3 separate regions of the Homo sapiens genome follow, and regions 2 and 3 are each linked to region 1. Evidence: promoter capture Hi-C in human tissues and cell types (Jung and others, 2019). All regions are on one chromosome and are shown on one strand. Each heading gives the region's core, a stretch centred on a gene start or on the middle of the fragment in contact. The rest is flanking DNA. Distances are from core to core; before and after follow the strand shown.

What was found. Contacts are between HindIII fragments. The study calls those that stand out against the background at their distance.
Region 2: a contact is called between a fragment that was not itself captured here and the fragment with the promoter of SCPEP1 in region 1, in 1 of the 25 tissues and cell types used here (hippocampus).
Region 3: a fragment that was not itself captured here is called in contact with the fragment with the promoter of SCPEP1 in region 1 in 1 of the 25 tissues and cell types used here (heart right ventricle).

Annotation. Positions count from the first base shown.
Region 1 is chr17:56,976,333-56,979,637 of GRCh38, forward strand. SCPEP1 (serine carboxypeptidase 1) reads left to right here and starts at 1,799. Exons shown (of 13, transcript NM_021626.3): 1 at 1,799-1,903. The coding sequence starts at 1,828. RefSeq lists a silencer at 1,682-1,741. The HindIII fragment of the contact is 4,443 bases long and covers 19-3,305 here.
Region 2 is chr17:57,621,668-57,624,972 of GRCh38, forward strand. All of the region lies in intron 9 of MSI2 (musashi RNA binding protein 2), which reads left to right. Among named protein-coding and RNA genes, the nearest start is that of MSI2-AS1, 15 kb to the left of the region's middle. The HindIII fragment of the contact is 6,327 bases long and covers 1-3,305 here.
Region 3 is chr17:57,602,770-57,606,074 of GRCh38, forward strand. The region is part of intron 8 of MSI2 (musashi RNA binding protein 2); the gene reads left to right. The region is part of intron 2 of MSI2-AS1 (MSI2 antisense RNA 1); the gene reads right to left. Among named protein-coding and RNA genes, the nearest start is that of MSI2-AS1, 4.0 kb to the right of the region's middle. RefSeq lists enhancers at 291-790, 2,445-3,305. The HindIII fragment of the contact is 4,868 bases long and covers 1-3,305 here.

The DNA of each region.
Region 1 (3,305 bases), core at 549-3,048:
TGAAGTCATATTAGCGTATTATAAAATGCACAATTTTTTTGTGCGTGTGTGAGATGGGGTCTTACTCTGTCACCCAGGCTGGAGTGCAGTGGCACCATCTTGGCTCACTGCAACCTCCACCTCCTGGGTTCAAGCGATTCTCATGCCTTAGCCTCCCGAGTAGTTAAGACCACAAGCAAGTGCCACCACACCCAGCTAATTTTTGTATTTTTGTAGAAATGGGGTTTCACTATGTTGGCCAGGCTGGTCTCAAACCCCCGACCTCAAGTAATCTGCCCACCTCGGCCTCCCAAAGTGCTGGGATTACAGGTGTGAGCCACCTTGCGCCCTGGGCTGTAGTGTTATTTTTGTGGCAAAAAAATTGAAACCCTAAAATTCTGACTGCAGTGGAAGGGTAAGTGTATTTCAAGCCCTAGTGATACAGACCAACTTGGAAGCTTCAGACAGGAAAAGTTTGCTAGATAGTTATTTATTTTTAACTAAGCATGTACTTTTATGTATCTCCCATATGGCATGGAACACCTGCTCACTGCAGCCTGGAGCTCCTGGGCTCAAGTGATCCTCCCACCTCAGCCTTCTGAGTAGCTTGGACAGCAGGCGCGTGTCACCACATCAGTTAATTTTTGTTATTTTTTGTAGAGAGGGGGTCTCAATATGTTGCCCAGGCATTATGGATTTTATGCATTCGGGACCATCCCATGCTTAAAGCATGACAGAACCCGGCGGCATATTTTTCTCTGCCGCAGCTTTCAGTGCAGGGGCACCTCACAGGCAGGGCGGGGTCAAGGCTCTGTCCAGACAATGGCTGCAGAGTAAAAAGCACTTCCATTTATGGGGGTCAAGGGCGAGGGGAGGGAGAAAGGAGCAGGGAAAGAGGAGAAGTGGCCACATGTACTTTGATTTGTTTTTTGCTTTTTGTTACATGTACTTTTGAAGCAGTATTTAGAAGTAGCCTCTCCTACAGCCCCTGCTGTAGCTTGTCTCCTAGCTGTGAGGTGAGTTATTCAGTACCCTCTAACGTAAAAATGACCTTCAGACAGACAGACAGACACACACACACACACACACACACACACAGAGGAAAACAGCTCTGTCATCCACTTTTTCTTCCTTTCCCGTCCCCAGACCCTCGATTCTCTCTTTAAAATGACTGCTGTGAAGATAACGTAACACAGAGTAATACTAATGACAAATTATCAAAAAAGAAAAAAAAAATAAAAATCTTTATTAGTGTTTTTTAAAATGACGTAAAAGACTATGGGAAAAAATGCCAACAATAGTTATGTATAACTTTTTTGTTCATATTTCCAAAACGTTTATAACATACATAACTTTAAAAGAAAAATAATTTAAAAAATACATATCTGAAAATGAAACCCCGCTGTTTGCCAACGACCAGCTGGCTTAATCTGACTTCGCAGATGTAGCAGTGTTGGAAAACGTCGGTTCTTTTGCTGAGGGAAGGAAGAGATGGGAGGGGTAGAAAGGGCGGTGGTTATTCCCTTTAGTATTTCGATCCGGTCACACAACCTAAATCCAACATCTGCATCAAATGTCTCCTTTCCGAAATACTCTCCCTAAAATGACAGAGAACCTGGCCAGGCGGACAGAACGGCCCCTGCGCATTTGCAGGGGTCCTGGTGGGCTTGCCGGGCAGAGGGCGTGCGGGTCTCAGCAAGCTGCCGGGTCCGCCCAGGCCCCGCCCCATGCCCATTCAGGCCCCGCCCCCGACCCGCAGGCCCCGCCCCCGACCCGCCCCGTCCGCCTCCGTCACGTGATGGGGCGCCGGGTCCAGCCTGTTGCTGATGCTGCCGTGCGGTACTTGTCATGGAGCTGGCACTGCGGCGCTCTCCCGTCCCGCGGTGGTTGCTGCTGCTGCCGCTGCTGCTGGGCCTGAACGCAGGTAGGTTCAAGCAAGAGGCGCACCAGCTGCCATGCCTCTTTTTTCTCCAGGCGTGAGAGTTTGTTACTGGGTTTGTGCTTTTGAAAACATGTCTCTTTTCCCCGGTTCTTACCTTGTGTAATTATATTGCTTTTGAATCTCACTCTTTTTTTTTTTTTTCCTTAAAAAATTCAAAGTGCTTTTTTTGTCCTTTTCTGGCTCTGGGTGGTCTGAGTGCTTCCGTTCTCTCCTACGCCTAGATAGAAGCTGTGTGCAGAAATGTATGATTTGGGGAAACTGCTGGTCAATGAGGTTTCCCCGATTCAAAGGCCATGATTGGCTGCTAAATGAGGATATAAGGTCGTTTTATTTTAAGCTGAAATCTGCGGTCAAAAGTACCCTTACATCCTACCACGAATGGGACATTTCATTGAGATAAGGCCCTTTCTTTTCTTGATCAAAACAAACAAGATAACATCTTCCCCCACAGCGATCTTTTTTGGCAAAAAACAGATTTGTGTTTAATAGGATGACTTGCAAATTGATTTTCAGCAAAACCTCTCCTAGTCTGAAGCAAGCACTGAGAATTGGAACTGGCCACAAGCTTGCCTTGTGACCTTAGGCAAGTTGTTGAACAGTTTTGTTTTCCTTTTCTAAAATGGGGATCATCTGGCCCTTAGGCGAGTGTCTGGGAGATTTTGTAAAATAAGTAGCTCTGCCAATTTTACCAGTAGTCACTGCCAGGCAAGGGAGAAGTGCCTGGGGTTAGGTCAAAAGGTACCTGCGCCTTATCTGTCATTCTCAAGGGAGCGCAGCCTTATCTGTTATTGTCAAGGACAATATAATCGTGTGTTACTTGTATATAGAACCTTATAGCTAAGTCTGTAATGTTTTAGTCATCTGTTTTGCTCCTCAGGACACTTTCTGGTTTTCTTAATCTTCATTGTTGTTTTGTTTTGAGTCAGGGTCTCACTATGTTGCCCAGGCTGGTCTGGAACTGCCTGACTCAAGTGATCTTCCTACTTCAGCATCCCAAGTAGCCCGGACTGCAGACACAGGCCACCACCCTGGCTCTTTCTTATTTACAAGACGTTGTCTCATTGTCTTCCTCTCTACTCCTGTCTCTTTAGCTGTTGGGACCAGTGTTCTTTTACTGACCAATGGGGCTTGAAATTTGAGAAGGGAGGAAATAGAAGGCAGAAAACTCCAGTCACCGAGGGGATCCCCCCCATCATCTTTTAACAACAGCCCCTCTACTTTTTTTTTTCCCAGAGTGGTTTTGGAGGAAAAAAAAAAAGATGCTATAACTTGGAAATTGTTACGTTAGCAAAAAGTGACAAAGAAAATGTATTTAGCCTACTCTTTTCTAAAACATATTTTGTGGATGCTAGAAAAGTTAAGTAAGGAAAATTGGAGTTAGGGG
Region 2 (3,305 bases), core at 583-3,082, 650 kb after region 1:
CTGATAAGCATATAGTTGCACAGTTATTCTATCTTGATCTCTGTTGATATGGCTGCAGACATCCTTGGGGAAAACCTACACCTGTTTTGGTTTTAGCTTTTACAGCGTTTGACAGAATCACAGAATAATCAACCCAATGGGAATTCCTTAAAAGGAATGTAGAAGAGAAGAGGAGGGGTTATCCTTAGGCCAGGTCTCCCACCTTTGAGCCGGACAAAACCAGAGTCACCTAAGACTCTTAGGAAAGGTCTTTTGCAGGTCAGTGCAGTGGCTCATGCCTCTACTCCCAGGAGGCCGAGGCGGGCAGATCACCTGAGGTCAGGAGTTAGAGACTAGCCTGGCCAACATAGTGAAAACTCCATCTCTACTAAAAATACAAAAATTAACAGGACATGGTGGCGCATGCCTGTAGTCCTAGCTACTCGGGAGGCTGAGGCAGAAGAATCTTGAACCCGGGAGGCTGAGGTTGCAGTGAGCCAAGATCACACCACTGCACTCCAGCCTGGGTGACAGTGCAAGATTCCATCTCAAAAACAAACAAACAAAAAAACAGAAATGGTCTCGTGCAGCCCCTCAGACTTTGCGGCACCGCACCAAGAGGTGCCCACAGTTATCCAGCTCAATGTGATAGAATCTCTTTCATTTTTCTTAATGAAGGTGAACTTAATAAAAGCAAACACATGATGATTGTTGATATATTTTATTTCTCTGAGCCTTCTCTGCCACATAATCCCACTGCCTTTAACTTTCTTGGCCTCGTTGGGCACATGCTGTTTATTTAACATGCTGATACGAGTGTTAGAGAAATAGCACATTGCTGAGCCCTCAAAGAAAAGCTTCACCCTAGCAGGCCCAGAAACGAAGAGAGGCTGATGATCAGCTAAAGCACGTTAGCCAAAAGCATTCTTAGGTGCAGTCGTACTGAGAAGCCCCGCGTGAAGTCCTGACTCAGTGTTCCCTGACATTAAGCCCCCTGAAATGTGAGCAAAAAAAAAAAGTATCGTTAAGAACAGGCACTAGGAAGCTGTAATCTGCTGGCGTTCACTAACAGATCAAAAGATTGGAGATTGGCTGGAACTTAAAACCACATATCTACACTCAATTTCGACGGGGATCTGGCTTTCCCAAAAATATCTGTTTAGGTTATTCTCAAGGAAGTGTTCCTTTGTTTAGCCGCTTCCTGGTGGACAGAGGAAACTCAGAATTCAGCTCTTCATTGTCCCTGTAGAGCAGTGCAGTCCAATAGAACTTCCTGCAAGGGAGGGAAGGTCCTGTCTGCACTAGCCAATATCACTAGCCGCCTGTGCACGGTAGCTGCTGAGCCCTTGAGTTGTGGCTTTTGCGAATGAGGAACTGGAGCTTTCATTTTAGATAATTTGAATTAAATTTAAATTGGACGGCGCAGGTCTGGAGGAGCCCCTGCAACTCAGGGTGATTCTGGGGGCAAAGCATCTTTGTAGACTTTAGCCTTCGCGTCCTTGCCTAGGAAGGACTCTTGGCACTTGGTGTTTAGTCTGTTTGCAGACCTCATGGAGCCGATGAGGTGCCCCAGGCAGTGCTCTAAACATCACGCAGCAGATATGTCACACTCTGGCAGTTCCCTGGATAAACAGCCCTGTCTCTTGTCTCTTTCAAGTCTGGGGCCTGGTGGGAGCCGTTTTCCATGACTCTGAGTAGCTGAGTAACAGAGCCCGGGAGAAGATGAGTCATGGACCCGTCTAGAAGGGAAACATCTCTAGGGTTGCAGCAAAGATCTAGAACCAGAACCACAGTTTTGACAACTTTGTCAGCATCCCCAAAATGGGGACTCAAAATGAGCTCAGTGGCAAATCCAAATTCTATTGTTGATTTCTGTATTTTTGCTTCTGCAATGGAAAGCCGATCTGCAAGAGAGGTGGTCACCCTGGCAGAAGCCTTGATTTTTTTTTACTTTAGTGACAAGAGATAATTACTGTGGGATTGATCAGGCGTCCAGAGTATTGGAGCAGATAAATTGTGCAGTGGCCAGTGTGGGAGGGGCCAGGCTGCTAATGGAAGTGGTGGCTGGGTCATCCCACCGTAATGTGGCTTGACGGAGCGTCTGCACGGGTCTGCTGTAATGTGCTATTGATATGCAGCCAGCCAATTTCCCCCGTGTGGCTGGGGCTGTGAACCATTCGAGCAGAGCTGGGCTGCACAGCAGTAAATGAAGAGGAAAATTGAAGTAATGTTGTATTATAAATTTATGATTTCATCTGCCTGACCTAGAGGATGTTCGGCGATTGGGGGTGGAGATAAGATCCCCCGCTCTGGCAGATGCCGAATTCTCATCTTTGTGGTTTGGGAGACTATAGTATTGATGTGTCCAGGAAGAGTGGGGTGAGACCCAAAGTTGGGGTGAACTTGACCATGCTTTTCTTCTTTCTCGTTGAAGCCTTGTAGGAAAGCCAGGAAGAAAGCAGGTATAATTGCATTGTATTTGTCACCTAAGTGCAGGGAGAAACTGGCTGCTCTGCCACTTCCCACCCTCCCTGAGGGAAGGTGACACATAGGCTTATGCTTTTGCTGTCAGATTAACACTAAAATATTTAAGACCCCCAGCTCTGAAGTTAGAAGCAAAGGAGCCATTTTTCATCTGGAAAGCCCCTAGGCAGCCATGACTTGGCTGTTTGCATATAATCCATTTATCAATATTGTTGAAATCATGGTATAAGAAATCTAGTACAAGATCTGATTTGCTAGCAGGTGATTAATTTGGAGGAGAACTGAGCTGCCTAGCCACGAAATAAATACGAAGGAAGGCGCCAGTATGCATGTGTCCATTTAAGGCATCTGAGCCCTGGCCTTTGCTGTTCTTCCTTCCTTCTTTCTCCGTCGGGTTGCTGAGCTCAACATCCCACCGGGCTCCTGCTCCTTAGCTAGCAGTCAGTGCAGAGCTGCTGGGTCCTTCTGCCTCGCTTGGGCAGGCTTCTGTCAATGAGTCACCAAGCACCGGGAAATAAGTGCACAGGAAGGAGCAGGTGGCAAGACCCTGTGGAGGTAGAGACAGTTCCATTCAGTGAGTGAGCTGTGACTGCAAATTTGGGAAGGTTCTGGGGGAAGCAAGGGAAAGGAGCCACAGCTGGTCTCACTCAAGAATTTGGGCACGTCACTGTTGCAAGGGACCCACAAGGCTTTCTACAGGTGACAAGACTAAGCTCCAAGAGAAAAAGGAAGACTCCTATCTTAAGTCGGGTTGCTGTCACAGATTACCATAGACGAGGTGGCTTATGAACAACAAACATTTATTTCTCACAGTTCTGGAGGCTGGGAAGTAAAGATCAAGG
Region 3 (3,305 bases), core at 248-2,747, 630 kb after region 1:
GAGGTCTGGATGCTGGTAATCAAAGTGTGGTCCATGTACCAGCAGCCTTGGCAGCCCCTAGGAGCTGGTTAGGAATGCAGAGTCCCAGGACCCACCCTAGACCTACAGAGTCAGAATCTGCATGCTGACAAATCCCCAGTGATTGGCGTGCACATTAAAGTCTGAGAAGCACCAGGCAAGGGCCACTGCTAATGACAGATAATGTGGGACTTGTGGGTCATAAATTGCCCAGCCATCATCATCAGAAGGAAGGGACTTGGGAATGAAGGGAGCACGGAGCCAGGCCAAATGGGGCCAAACCAGGCCTGGCACCTGGACCTCCAGGCCAGTCTGGTGCTCTTGGCACCACTCCATACTCCCTCTATGGTCAAACAGAGACCAGATTTCCGAAGATCTCCCAGAGGAAGCTCTCAGTGCCAGAGACTGCTCCCGCCCCTCACCATGCCCTACCCCTCTGGGTGCAGGCCTTGGAGCATTGCTTGCAGAAGACACGTGAGGCATGCATCTCTTGGGGTAAAGGGCTCGATTCTCCTGAGTGAGGTGCACGTGTCCTTGTCCCCAAGTCGGGACCTGCTGGGTCACTTAGAGGCACCAAGAGAGCCTTGGAACCTGAGCCTGAATCCCAGGTCCACCGCTGGTGATTCTGTAACCACAGGCGAGTGCCCTACCTGTCTGCACCAGTTTGCTCCTGTGGGAAATCAGAAGGTTGAGGATGGCTGCCTTTTGCAGCTTATATAAAGCTCTGCTTTGATACCTGGAGGTCTCGGCCTGTTCTGTTGTAGGGTATGTAATTGGGTAGCCTTGAAGGAATCAGCCCTTGATAACTTCACGTTTCCCCCACTGGGCCTAAGCCAGGGGCCAGCAAATTTTCTGTAACGGGCCAGAGAGTCTCTGTCACATCTACTCAGCCCTGCCATTGTAGCACAAACACAGTCCAGGCAATATATAAATGAAGGGGCGTGGCTGTGTTCAAATAAAGCTTATTTGCAAAAACTCATGGCAGCTGGGTTTGGCCTGCTGGCCACAGTTTGTTGACTCCTGGACTAAACTAATCTAGCTCAGAGCAGGCCCAGTCAGGGTGCTCCTTGTCTACAGGGGTCCAATGAAAGGCATTTAGCCAAATGGTCAGCCAGTTTCACTATTGAGCACACATTATTAGGGGCAGAGTAGAAAGGGGGTGCCCCAAACAGGCACACGAGTTTGGGGATAGCAGCCTGTGGAAAGTATCAGTGCCTTCATTCTTTGGGGGAGCCCCCAGGTGGGGAGTGACACAATGGTCAGAACAGGGTGCTGTCAACCAGGGCGGCCTTCCTGGTAGAGGGTGCCTCAAGTCCTCAGTGCTGAACCCCCTTCCACTTCCCAGCTTTGTGGCCTTGGGCAAGTTACTTCTGTGTTTCGGCTCTGTGGTTCCCCTTTCTATAAAACAGGTTGTGGTAGTGCCTACCTCGGAGAGTGCTGTGACTTAAGACTTGTAAGGGGTTTGGAACAGAGCCAGGCCATGGCACGCTCTCTATCAGAGTGATAGATTTTTTCACCACTGTCGTCATTGTCATCATTCTTAGAATTATTTTACTGAGCAAATAAAGAGTTAGCAGGTAAGGAGGTCCTCAGCAGATTATAAGTCAGTAAAATGCAAGTGGTGCGGGACCTGGGCAGGACTGGGTCCCGAGCCTGCGGGGCAGGGATGGAGAGTATGAGGTGGGCACTCTCAGTGCCTCTGGGGATGGTCCTAGGAAAGGAGGTGGTGCACCTCCCAAAGCAGGAGGAACCAAGAGATGTGATTGTCTAGGTCCTGGAAAAGCTGAGTCCCACTCTTCACCTGACTCATTCTTTAAGAAGGTTCCAGAAAAATCCACTTCTAAGAGCAAAGCCTACTGAGATCTTAGGCCTGCTACCCTTCAGCCCAGGGCATACCTGGGGGATTGACTCGGAACAGGGGATTCTGGGGAAGGAAGGGCAGAAGGATAAGAAGGGAGGAGGGTCCTGAGCTGTCCTCTTGGACTCAGGGCTGCGGTGCTGTGACCAGCCCATCCATGGAGGCCAGCCGCAGGCTAGGGTCGGCTTCTGGGCCCTGCCACCTGGCAAGGTGCCCAGTGATTGGCTCACCCCCCCACTCCTTCCAGCTGCTCCTCCTCAGCCCTGAAGACAACTCAGTCGGGAACCAGCCCAAAAGTGGTGGGTGTATTTGTGTGTGGGGAGGGGGGCGGGTAATGTGGGTGGAATTAACTAGGCTTCTGTATTCACAATCCTATTTGTAGCATCATTCTCACTCGTAAGCTAATTTTAGCCATCCATTCTGCTTCTGTTGCCATTTATAAAATGAGAATGTCAAATGCAATATTAAACAAGCAGGATGAAGGCAAAAAAGGAAATGCCAGAGAGGCATTTAATAAATGAATCTGGTGTTTACGTGGGAGAGGGAGAGATCCTGCCCCCCACGCATCACACACGCAAGCGCGTGCACATGCTGTTTGTGTACAGGCTGTGTTAATGAGAGCAGAGTGATTAGTGTGTTGGGGGAGGCCGGGTGGTTCGGTGGTAAATGTTTGTTGCTCTTTAGGCAGAAGTAATTTGGCCTGCAGGGAGTGGCCTCCCAGTTGCCTGAGTGGTTCGCTTGCCCTTCATCTGTCCTCTGGCGATGTCAGTGTAGGCAGGGCCAGGGAGGGCAGTGGTCTGTCTCCTCAGTATCTCAGCACCCAGTGCCTCTGGGCTTTTCTGAACGTGCTGCCACCAGCGTCCCCGTACTCCACCCCCAGGGCGCAGGGTCATGAGAGGGGAGCATGGAGACCACTAGGAGGGGCTGCCCCCCCTTCTCTTCTGCCTCTTCCCCGCGCAGAAGGCAGGGCATGAACAGTCTGCGCCCGTATGCAGCTGCAGAGACCAAGCCCAGAGTAGCGTGGCTCTTGCCTGGACTCTTGCCAATTTCTCTTCTAGTTTCACTCTAGTTTCCCCAGGGCCTGGGAGTTCTGTCCCTGGTTCTTCCTTTGCCCTCTTCTTTCAGCTGCCTCTGCCTAGAAAAGAAGGCTCAAGCCATACCTTTTATTTTCTCCCTCTTTTAAATAAATGAAGTTAGGCCCCACGCAGGGCCTCTGGCCCAGCCCACCGTGCCCTGGGGTAAGCACTCCTCCAGCCTTGTGGCGGAACCTGAGCACCTGCTGGAGGCTGAGGTTTCTTTCCACTTTGAAATGCCCTTGCAGGTTCCCAGAAATGAAAAGGAGGACAGCTGCTGCTGCCACCATCAGCTTTTTCCCCAAATAGTGCGGCCTGGGAAGCTCTCTTTGCACATCCTGCTGATGAAAGCAGGG